Regions from separate parts of the Homo sapiens genome. Here region 1 is linked to region 2. Evidence: promoter capture Hi-C in human tissues and cell types (Jung and others, 2019). All regions are on one chromosome and are shown on one strand. The core of a region is centred on a gene start or on the middle of the fragment in contact, and the rest is flanking DNA. Distances in the headings are between cores, read along the strand shown.

Region 1 (5,274 bases), core at 890-3,389, 82 kb before region 2:
TCATACTGGAGAGAGACCCTACGAATGTAAGGAATGTAGGAAAGCCTTCAGCCAGTATGCACACCTTGCTCAACATCAGAGAGTTCATACTGGAGAAAAACCTTATGAATGTAAAGTATGTAGGAAAGCCTTCAGCCAAATTGCATACCTTGATCAACATCAGAGGGTTCATACTGGAGAGAAACCCTATGAATGTATTGAATGTGGGAAGGCCTTTAGCAATAGTTCATCACTTGCACAACATCAGAGAAGTCATACTGGAGAAAAACCCTATATGTGTAAGGAATGTAGGAAAACATTTAGCCAGAATGCAGGCCTTGCTCAACATCAGAGAATTCATACTGGAGAGAAACCTTATGAATGTAATGTTTGTGGGAAAGCATTTAGCTATAGTGGATCTCTTACTCTACATCAGAGAATTCATACTGGAGAAAGACCCTATGAATGTAAAGATTGCAGGAAATCTTTCAGGCAGCGTGCACATCTTGCTCATCATGAGAGAATTCATACTATGGAGTCATTCTTGACTCTTTCCTCTCCCTCACCCTCCACATCAAATCAGTTGCCAAGACCTGTAGGTTTCATCTCCTGAATATTTCTGGAATCCACCTCTTGAATCCATTTCCATCCCATCATCCTTGTCCAATGCACATTAATATATTTGACATGGGATACTCGAGTAGCTTTCTAATTGGTCTCCTTGTACTCACCATTGTCTCTGTCAGATGTCCACATTGCAACCAAATTTGTATTTTTAAAAATATGTTTAATCTCATTTCTCCCTCATTAAAATCCCTCAGTGGCATCCCATGGTTTTTAAGTTAAAGCACACATTCTTCAAAATAGCCTAAAAACCTAGCCTCTAACACCTTGTTCCAGGTTACCTTCCAAAGTTTCTATCTTGTGTCACTATCCATCTCATTCTCTGAATACTTATCCAGGATTAAGATACATATTCCAGGATCAAAAAGACCTGGGTTCCAATCTTTGCACTTCCATTTCCTGCCCTCTAATTTGGGGGCAGCAGTTTGTGCTTTGTAAGCTTCAGTCTTATTTATAGTGTGGGAATAATAATGGTTCTACCTCAGAAGTTAATAGAAGAATGAAATAATGCATGTAAATTGCTCAGCAGCGTGCCTAGCATAAAGTAATTACTCAAACCATAATGTAAAGTAAAAAGATAACCATACTATACATAGAAAGCCAATCATCTCAGCCATGATTATCTCAGAAATAAAAAGAGATGCAGCAGCTCAGGACTGAGAGATTGTGAAGTTTTTTTTTTTTTAGGAATGGTAGGCATTTTTCTAAAAGTAGGTGAGGAGGGTATCTAACAGTAGGATTTACATTAGAGTCCATGATATAGGGTAAGATGGTGGCTTGTATCAGCATTCACTGGATATTTAACAGTTCTAAGATGCTAATGTCTTATTTTAAAAGTCTTTTTTTTTGAGATGGAGTCTTGCTCTGTTGCTCAGGCTTGAGTGCAGTAGTGCAATCTTGGCTCACTGCAACCTCCGCCTCCTGTGTTCAAGTGATTCTCCTGCCTCAGCCTCCTGAGTAGCTGGGATTACAGGCCTGCACCACCACGCCCAGCTAATTTTTGTATTTTTAGTAGAGAGAGGGTTTTGACATGTCGGCCAGGCTTTTCTCTAACTCCTGACGTCCGGTGATCCGCCTGCCTTGGCCTCCCAAAGTGCTGGGATTACATGCGTGAGCTACCGTGCCTGGCCTAAAAAGTCATTTTTAATAAGACAGTTTACTGAGATGTATTCATCATTTACATGTAAACAAAGGCAAAATCGAAATTAAAAAGAAATCTTGAAACAAGTCAGTAACCAATGATGAGTAGAAAATAAAGTATAAGTTTGAACCCCTGTTCTAAATCTGGGTGAATGAATTATATCAAATCTATGTCATTTAAAATAATAAAGGTTGTTAAATTACTAAAATTTCAAAACTAGTGAAGAAAAGAAACCAAAACTGTAGGTCAGTTCTCATAAACTGGCCCACAAACATGTTTGATTCTGTATGCATTAAGTTTAAAATACATATGAATACCTTCAGCAGACCATGTGTTTTCCCTTTCTCCAACATTCAAACCACTCCCTGATTCTTTACATCTGACCTCTTTTAATATTACTTCCTGACCCCAGAATTCTTTTGGCATATAATCAATGCAGTGATCAATTCACATGTGACTATAGATACAAACAGAATGACGAAAGTTTAATGGAGGATGAAAAAGAAGACAAATAAATATTTTATCCTTTATATGGTAAGACAGATTCACTATCATACTGATGTCAGTAGCCCATGAATTAATTTACAGATTCTACCTAACAAAATTCTAATAAATTTTGTAAGGTTTTAACATGTATGTGTGAACATACATATTCATGCTGTTACACATATAAAGAAAATTATAACAAAAGTGACCTATACCATCAGTGGTTTAACAGTTTTGGAAAAATTTATCGTGCTCTATACAACAATTCATTCCATATGTGAAAGTTACTTTCAAGTGCTTTATCTAAATGTGGAACAAACAGTGATTAGAGGAGTCTGTGACACACTCTAATCATGGAATGAGACTGGCCTTCCTAAACATGAGATTCAGAAGCCTCCCCACCTCCTGTCAACAAGTCATAGATTTGACTGTATAAGAACTTTATAAAGCTTTTATATGATCAAAGATAGTAAAAGATACAATATTTTTTAAACCTAAGAATGGGAGAAAATTATTGCAGCACATATAAACTATGGAATTCATATCCTTAACATAAAATTGCTCATAAAAATCCCTTAGGAAATGACGCTTTTCTCCAGCTCATAGTCAAAGGATATGAAGAGGCAACAGGTGACCAATAAATATGTGGTAAGTACTAAATCTCCCTAGGATCAGAAGAAATACAGTTTAGGCCAATGAAATACTATTTTTTTCAATATCAGATTAATAAAACTGCATTGAAAGCATACAAAAAGAGATACTATGCACTAATTTAAAAGAGCATGAGTTTGTACAAACTCTGGTAGGCAATTTGTCAACTTCAGAATTTTAATTGGGAAAAGTAGAATTTTATTTTGAAGTTCAAAAACTCGGCACACAATGTCTTTCCCTCCAGATTCTATTATACACATAGAACAATGTAAATGATTCTTAAAAAAAAAAAAAAGGTGAGGCTTTTGAGTGGATGAAATAATTTTGTAAAAGGCAAAACAGGGAAGAGTGTTCATGAATTGTAGCAGAAGATGCTGCATGTTATATGCGAATGACCGAAGGGTTTTAAAAATGGAATCTAGTCTGCCCAAAGGATCCCTAGAGAAGTTCAGGCTTGGAGTTGGCTTATGTACAGGCTGTGGCTTCTAAGAAGACATGATGAAAAGCCTCTTGAAGCCTTTGTATGTGAAAGTTATGTCAGTAGCCCTTGCCAAAAGCCTCCTCACTCTCCCCTCTCTTGTATAAGTAAATTGAATGGGATCCTTATTTCACACCATTAACAAGTATAAGTTCTAACTGAATAAAAATCTAAATGTAAATTACTAAAGCAAAAGTATTAGAAAAAATATAGTGGGATATGTTAACGACTTTGGTGTCAGACACGTGTTTCTAAAATATTCAAATACCATAAAGGAAAAGATTGATAAAATTGACTGTGTCAAAAAATAGTGTGCTTTGGCTGGGTGCGGTGGTTCACACCTGTAATCCCAGCACTTCGGGAGACTGAGGCAGGTGGATCATGAGGTCATGAGTTCAAAACCAGCCTGGCCAAGATGGTGAAACCCCATCTCTACTAAAAATACAAAAAATTAGCTGGGTGTGGTGGCAGGCATCTGTGATCCCAGCTACTTGAGAGGCTGAGGCAGGAGAATCACTTGAACCATGTGGCAGAGGTTGCAGTGAGCCAAGATCATGCCACTGCACTCCAGCCTGGGCGATAGAGTGAGACTCTGTCTCAAAAAAAAAAAAAAATTATTGTGCTTTTGGCCAGGCATGGTGGCTCACGCCTGTAATCCTAGCACGTTGGGAGGCCGAGGCGGGTGGATCACCTGACCTCAGGAGTTAGAGACCAGCCTGATCAACATGGTGAAACCCTGTCTCTACTAAAAATACAAAATTAGCTGGGTGTGGTGGGGCTACCTGTAAACCCAGCCACTTGGGAGGCTGAGGCAGGTGAATGGCTTGATCCCAGGAAGCAGAGAATGCAGTGAGCTGAGATCGCGACATTGCACTCCGACTTGGGTAACAAGAGTGAAACTCGGTCTCAACAACAACAAAAATTAGTGTGCTTTTAAAGAAAGTTAAAAGATAAGCAACAGGAAGGAAGAAACACATAACGGACACATGTAAGAACACATATAAGTCAATAAGTAAAGGACAACTAAGCAAGTATATAAATGTGCAAAGATGAGAATGGCCAAATTGTGGAAGACATACAGATGTCTAAGTCTCTGCTTAACCTCATTAGTATTAAGTTATGCAAATTTGCTCATTTATTATTTATTTATTTTGTAGAGATGAAGTCTCACTTTGTTGCTGAGGCTGGTCTCAAACTCCTGGGCTCAAGTGGTCCTCTTCCCTCAGCCTCCCAAAGTGCTGGAATCACGGGTGGAGAGATTCAAATTGAGACAGTATAATACCAGATATTGGTCGTGGTGTGGAGACAGGATTTCTCATCACAGCTACTTTAGAGGCAGTGAAGTTTTTAAAATGCTCACTATAGCCACTTTGTAGGGTACAGTTAGTATTTGAAACACTGAAAACAACCTAAATTTCTATCAGTAAAGTAATGACTAGGAGTTCTATGCTGGAGTTTAAAAGAATGGGCTGATAATATTGATACGAATTTGACTAAAGGACTTACTGGTTGAAAATGTAAAAATTTCGCATACACTATTGTATATTTAAAAATATATTTTATTTCTAATGCATTTATAGAAGTATGCAAATGCTTAGTGAAAGTTCTGAACAGACACCCAACTGATAAATGTTTCCTCTAGGAAGGGACTGGTATTGGATGCTCTGGTCAAAGGAAGATTTAGTGTTATTTGTACTGTTTGAAGTTTTAAACATCAATGTAATAATTAAAAAAAAAACTTTAACATGAAAAAATTGAGTTTACAACGAACTGGACACCTAGAATGAAAAGTTGGCAGTCTAAGTTAAAACTCTTTTTTGGAATTTGGAGCATCTCTCCTTGACTTGCCAGCCCTTCCCAGGCATACAGATACCCTGGTAACCCTTCCAATTTAGGCAAACAGACCTACAGTGGA
Region 2 (5,302 bases), core at 77-2,576:
AGTTCAAGCGGCTTCCAAGAAGGTAGACAAAAACACATCCTCGTGCTGGGAGGGTGGTGCACCCCAACTCCACGGGCACAGAAGTTCCTGCACTAGGGATTCTCTCGGACCTTGCCCTACATGTCTCTTCATCTGGCTATTTGTATCCTTTAAAATATCTTTTATAATAAACCAGTAAACATAAGTGTTTCCTTGAGTTCTGTGAGCTGCTCTAGCAAACTAATGGAACCCAAGGAGCCGGCTGTGGGAGCCCCAATTTATAGCACATCTCTCTGAAACACAGGTACAACAATCTGGAGTTTGGAATTGGCATGGGAAGTGGGGGACAGTCTTTTGGGACTGAGCTGTCTAACCTGTAGGATCTGATGTTTTCCAGGTAGCGTCAGAATTGAATTGGAGTAGCGGTCACCTGGCTGGTGTCTGCTGCAGACAGGTTTTTTTGACATGTTAAGACATTATAAGAGACAATAGAAAAAATGTATACGATACAACCTTCTCTGAGTTATATTTCTCCATAGCCCTTTTTACTGTTCATCAGACTGTTTATCTAACTCATGAATTTGTGGCTTGTCTCTCTCCGCTTCAAAGTAAATTACATAATAAGAGGACAGGGATTTTTTTTTCTCTGCTGTATCCCCCTGAATTGCTTTTCCTTATTTGTCTCACCTTCCAATACTAATTCTACAGTTCTCCTAGTCAGGGCTAGTCCCCTAAAACGGGGACCATTTCCATTTTGTTAAGGGGCTGAACGCGGTTCAAGCCTAGCAGATTGGTTCCAAAAACGTCGTGTTATTCACTGCCTCTGATCAGTGACATTCCCATTTGCAGCTGAAAGAGGTATTAATTCGCCAGAGTCACAACACGGTCGGGGTTCCTCGTCGCTGTCTTATTCCAAAATAAGCTTAACACAGAAAGATAATGACACTCCCACGGACTGGCACAGAAGGCCGCGCTCCGAATGACATCGCGATCACAGAGGCACAGACAGCGTCACAAAGCCCCACGCGTACTCACACCGAAGGCTCAGCCGTCGCGCGTTTCCCTCCCAGGCCCCAGGAACTAGTAACTAGGGACGCTTCTGGTCTCTAGGCGAGGAGAGGGGGAGAGCGCAATCTTTGCGCCTGCGCACACTCCTGCTCTTACCCGCCGGAACCCTGGGCCACGCCCGGCTCGCGTAATCACGCACTGCGCAGGCACCGCCCGCTCTGCTCTAAGGTCCCTCTCACTCCTTCAGCAGCCCGAGGACAATCCCCTCAACACTAGGCCACGCCTTGTCTCCGCCCCTCTCGTCCGACCCCTGGAGAGAGGCTGGCGCCTGCGCGATGGGGGGTTCCAGCGTCGACTCACGGAGTCCTTCGGATGAGAGCGTCTGGGTGCCAGACGAGGCCGGGGGTTTGTTTTGGGTGGTTTGGGAGTCCGAGCTCGAGGGCTGGGCCAGGAAGGGCAGGCGAGGCGGGCGGCTCCGACGCGGGTCGCGAAGGCCCAGCCGCGTCCTCTGTCCCCAGGACGACTACATTTCCCAGAGGCCAGCGGGGCGCGCGTACTCGAGTCTGCGGGGCGGAGGCCGCGGCTCGGGGCTGCTGGGCGTTCGGGGCGGCTTGGGGCGGCGGGACCACTGGAGTGAGCTGTGGGAGAGATGGGGGTGTGCCTGTGTGTAAAAGATCTGTCAGAGTGTGAGGCTCCGTGAGAGGGTGTGGTTTCTGTGTGTGTGTGTGTGTGTGTGTGACAGACCGAGAGTCCAGTGTGAGACCAGGGTATGTTCGTGTGTGACAGAGCGAGACGGGCCAGTGTGAGAGACCAGTGAGTGTGAGAGAGATAGGGATGTGCCTGCATTTGAAAGAGAGCGTGTGAAGCTCAGTGAGAGGTTGCGAGGTGTGTGGGTGTGTAAGTGTGTAACAGACCAGGTGTCCAGAGCGTGAGACCAGGATGTATTCGTGTGAGAGAGTGAGACGGGCTGGATGGAGTGTGAGAGACCAGTGAGTGTGAGAGATGGGCGTGTGCCTGTGTGTGAAAGGCCGGTCGGTCGGTGGGTGAGGCTCAATGAGAGGCCGGTGTGTGTTCGAGAGAGAGAAGAATCACCATGTATGCGAGACTAGACTGTGCAAGAACAGAGTGTGAGACTGTGGTATGTTAATGTGTGAAAGGGAGACCAGTGAGTGTGAGAAATGGGTGTTTTGGGTGAAAGACCCGTCAGTGTGTGAGGCCGTGTTATGTGTGTCTGACAGACTGAGAGAGACCAGAGTGTGAGACCAGGGTGTGTTCGTGTGTGAGAGACAACATAGCGTGAGACCAGTGAGTGTGAGAGAGATGAGCACGTGGCTGTGTGTGAAAGACCAGTCATTATGTGAGGCTCCTTGAGAGGCTGGTGTGTGTGTATGAGAGAGAGAAAGAGACTAAACTGTGAGAGTCCAAAGAGTGAGACTAGGTTATGTTGTTATGAGTTTGTGAGAGAGAGGGAGGCGATCAAAGTATAGGACAAAGTTATGTTTCCTGGCTTACGACTTCTAAGATCCTTGGAATCTCCAAAGTATTAAGTGTCTTTTTGCATGCTAATGATTGGTGGGCTGGCAGCCTGTAGGTTGATCACGGTAAGGGATGGTCACAAGAACAATCTAGGCAGGATTAGAGGGTTGGGATTACCTGCCCCATCCCTCAATCTCCAGGGAAAGGAAAGGGAGCCACAGGTTAAACTGATCATCAGTGGTCAGTGATTTAACCAGTCATGCCTACATTATGAAGCTTCCATAAAAACCCAAAAGGACTGGGTTCATCAAACTTCCAGATAGCTGAACACTGGAGGTTCCTGTAGGATGAGCCCCTTCCTATATAACCTTGTCCTATGCATTTCTTCACCTGCATCCTTTGTAATATCCTTTATTACTACAAACGTGTTTCCCTAAGTTCTGTGAGCTGCCCTAGCAAATTAATTGAACGCAAGGAGGGGGTCATAGGAACCCCGATTTATAGCTAGTCAGAAGCACAAGTAAAACAACCTGGGGTTTGCAACTGGCATTGGAAGTGGGGAGCAATTTTGTAGGGCTGAGCCCTCAACCTGTGGGATCTTATGCTGTCTCCAGGTAGATAGTGTCAGAATTGGGTTGCCCTAGAGGTCACCCACCTGGTATTCACTGGGTTGCCCTAGAGGTCACCCACCTGGTATTCACTGAAGAACTTATTGCTTGCCTGGTGTGTGTGTGTGTGTGTGTGTGTGTGTGTGTGTGTGTGTAGATCCCCACACATCTGGTCTTAGAACTGTTTTGTGTTGTGTGAGTGGAGTAGGAGAAACAGTTTGTTTTTCCTCTTTGTCACCTGAGTGTGTTATCAGGGACTGGATTGTGAGAATCCAGAGTGTGAGACCAGGGTATATCAATGTGTGAGAGAAATAGATGTGCCTGTGTGAAAGATGAACAAGTATGAGGCTCCCTGGAGTCTGAGAAAGATCATGTGTGTGTCTGAGTAAAAGCAAGAGACTAGACTGAGAGTTCAGTGATTGGGAGAGACTGGGGTATGTTGGTGTGAGTGTGTGAGAGACCAATGGGTATGTGAGAGACTAGAGTATGTCTCTGTCTGGACTGGTAGGTTGTGAGAGGGTGTATCACAGTATGAAAAAGATTGGAGTGAGAGTGACCAGTATGTATTTTGTGTGCATGAGATAAAGCAGTTGGAATATGAGAGATCAGAGTGTGTTTGTGTATCTGTGTGAGACACTGGAGCATTTGAGTAACTGAGGCCTCTTTGAAAGATACCATTGAATGTGTATGTATGAGAGACCATCATGTTTATATGTGTGAAAGAGGGAGAGAAAGACTAGTGATGTGGTTGTGTGAGAGACCAAAATGGGTGAGAAAGAAACTATGTGAACCATGGTGTGTTATCCAAAAGGCTTTACAAATATAACCTCTGTGAGGTTGTGAAGCATGCATGTGTGAGTGAGACAGAGATAAGGGACAGTGAGCTGTGTGTGTGAGAGAAGTAAGATTGGGGGTATGTGTGAAGGTGTTGGTGAATCACCACGTGTGCTTATATTCATGTCCTCAGGCAATGGAAATGTGACTGTGTATATGTGCTTGTTTTGGGGTGCTTGTGATTGTGTCCTCCGTGTGACCATGAAACCTGTGTTAGTGTTTGTATGTCACCCTGTATACCCATAATTGTGGCCCTGTATGACTGCTGTGTATGGAGAGACTACTTGGAAGATTGATAGGATTGGATTCTTTATGAGTGTGGCTGTTTGGAATTGTGTGTTGCCGGGATAGGAAATGTGGAATAGAATTCCTGTCCCCAGTCCAAGGGTTTCAGTAAGAAGCAAAGCTGGGGTGACTGAAGCTCCTAACTGAAGCAGGAGACACCCTCACTTCTGTGTGACAGGAGGGTAATTAAGGGGCTGGGACAGAGGTGAGAGTGAAAGTGGCAGAATTGAGTGCTAAAGGTTCCATCGTTTCAGGGTGAGGAAAGTGAAACAGTGCCGGGGGGTGGGTCAGGGATGCAGTGGTGGGGATTGAGTGAAGAAGGAGGATAACCCTGGCCTCTGGTGGCATTTGGGAGTCAGATTTTCCTTTTTCTTTTGTTTTTTTTTTTTTCCCAAAAACCCCATCCATCTGGCCCAGAAAGGAGCCAGATTTTCAAACAGTAGACTTTCAAAGCATGAAGCAGAGACCCAAGAAGAGAATGACTCCACCTTTACCTGTAAAATGGAGGAAATGACTATTTTATAGGATTATTTGAAAAATAAAGTGAGATAATCTAATCTATGCAGAGTACCTAATGCATCTGAATGGGAAGGTAGCTCTTTGAAAAAGATTAAATTTAGGACCTCAAGCATGAAAAAAAAAAACCGTTATGAGTTTTAGCCCTTCAGTGGCCATAGGTTGCTCATACCCAGTTATGGGATCAACCAAAGCTGGGAAGAAGAAGACAGTTTTAGGCTAGTGATTCTGGGAGTGCAGCATCTCTGGCCTCATCTCTCTCTAACCTTTCCCTTCCTTCAGCCTTGCCCTCCCAAGACACTGTTCTTCAAGAGAAAGACCAGAAGAGAAGGCAAAAATGAATGTTGAAGTAGTAAAAGTCATGCCCCAGGTTAGTGGATATTTTCTTTCTCTTCATGAAAGGCAGTCTTGCTGTTTAGGACTTTTTGTAATGCTTCTTTTCTTTTGAAAATTCCCTGATTAACAGTCCAGGAGCCTAGTTCCCACTTCTCTCAGGGGCCACTGTCTTTAACTCTAATTACCTAATGAGTGAGTAATAGCTTAGTATAAAAAGTCATGGAGGTCCCTCTGAGATTCCTCTTCCCACCTTGTGTACA

What was found. Contacts are between HindIII fragments. The study calls those that stand out against the background at their distance.
Region 1: a contact is called between a fragment that was not itself captured here and the fragment with the promoter of ZNF471 in region 2, in 3 of the 25 tissues and cell types used here (adrenal gland, spleen and thymus).

The regions. Positions count from the first base shown.
Region 1 is chr19:56,423,777-56,429,050 of GRCh38, forward strand. It overlaps ZNF583 (zinc finger protein 583), which reads left to right. Exons shown (of 5, transcript NM_152478.3): 5 at 1-3,588. The coding sequence ends at 592. Among named protein-coding and RNA genes, the nearest start is that of ZNF583, 22 kb to the left of the region's middle. The HindIII fragment of the contact is 4,229 bases long and covers 26-4,254 here.
Region 2 is chr19:56,506,529-56,511,830 of GRCh38, forward strand. It overlaps ZNF471 (zinc finger protein 471), which reads left to right and starts at 1,327. Exons shown (of 5, transcript NM_020813.4): 1 at 1,327-1,392; 2 at 4,989-5,076. The coding sequence starts at 5,044. The HindIII fragment of the contact is 4,462 bases long and covers 1-4,296 here.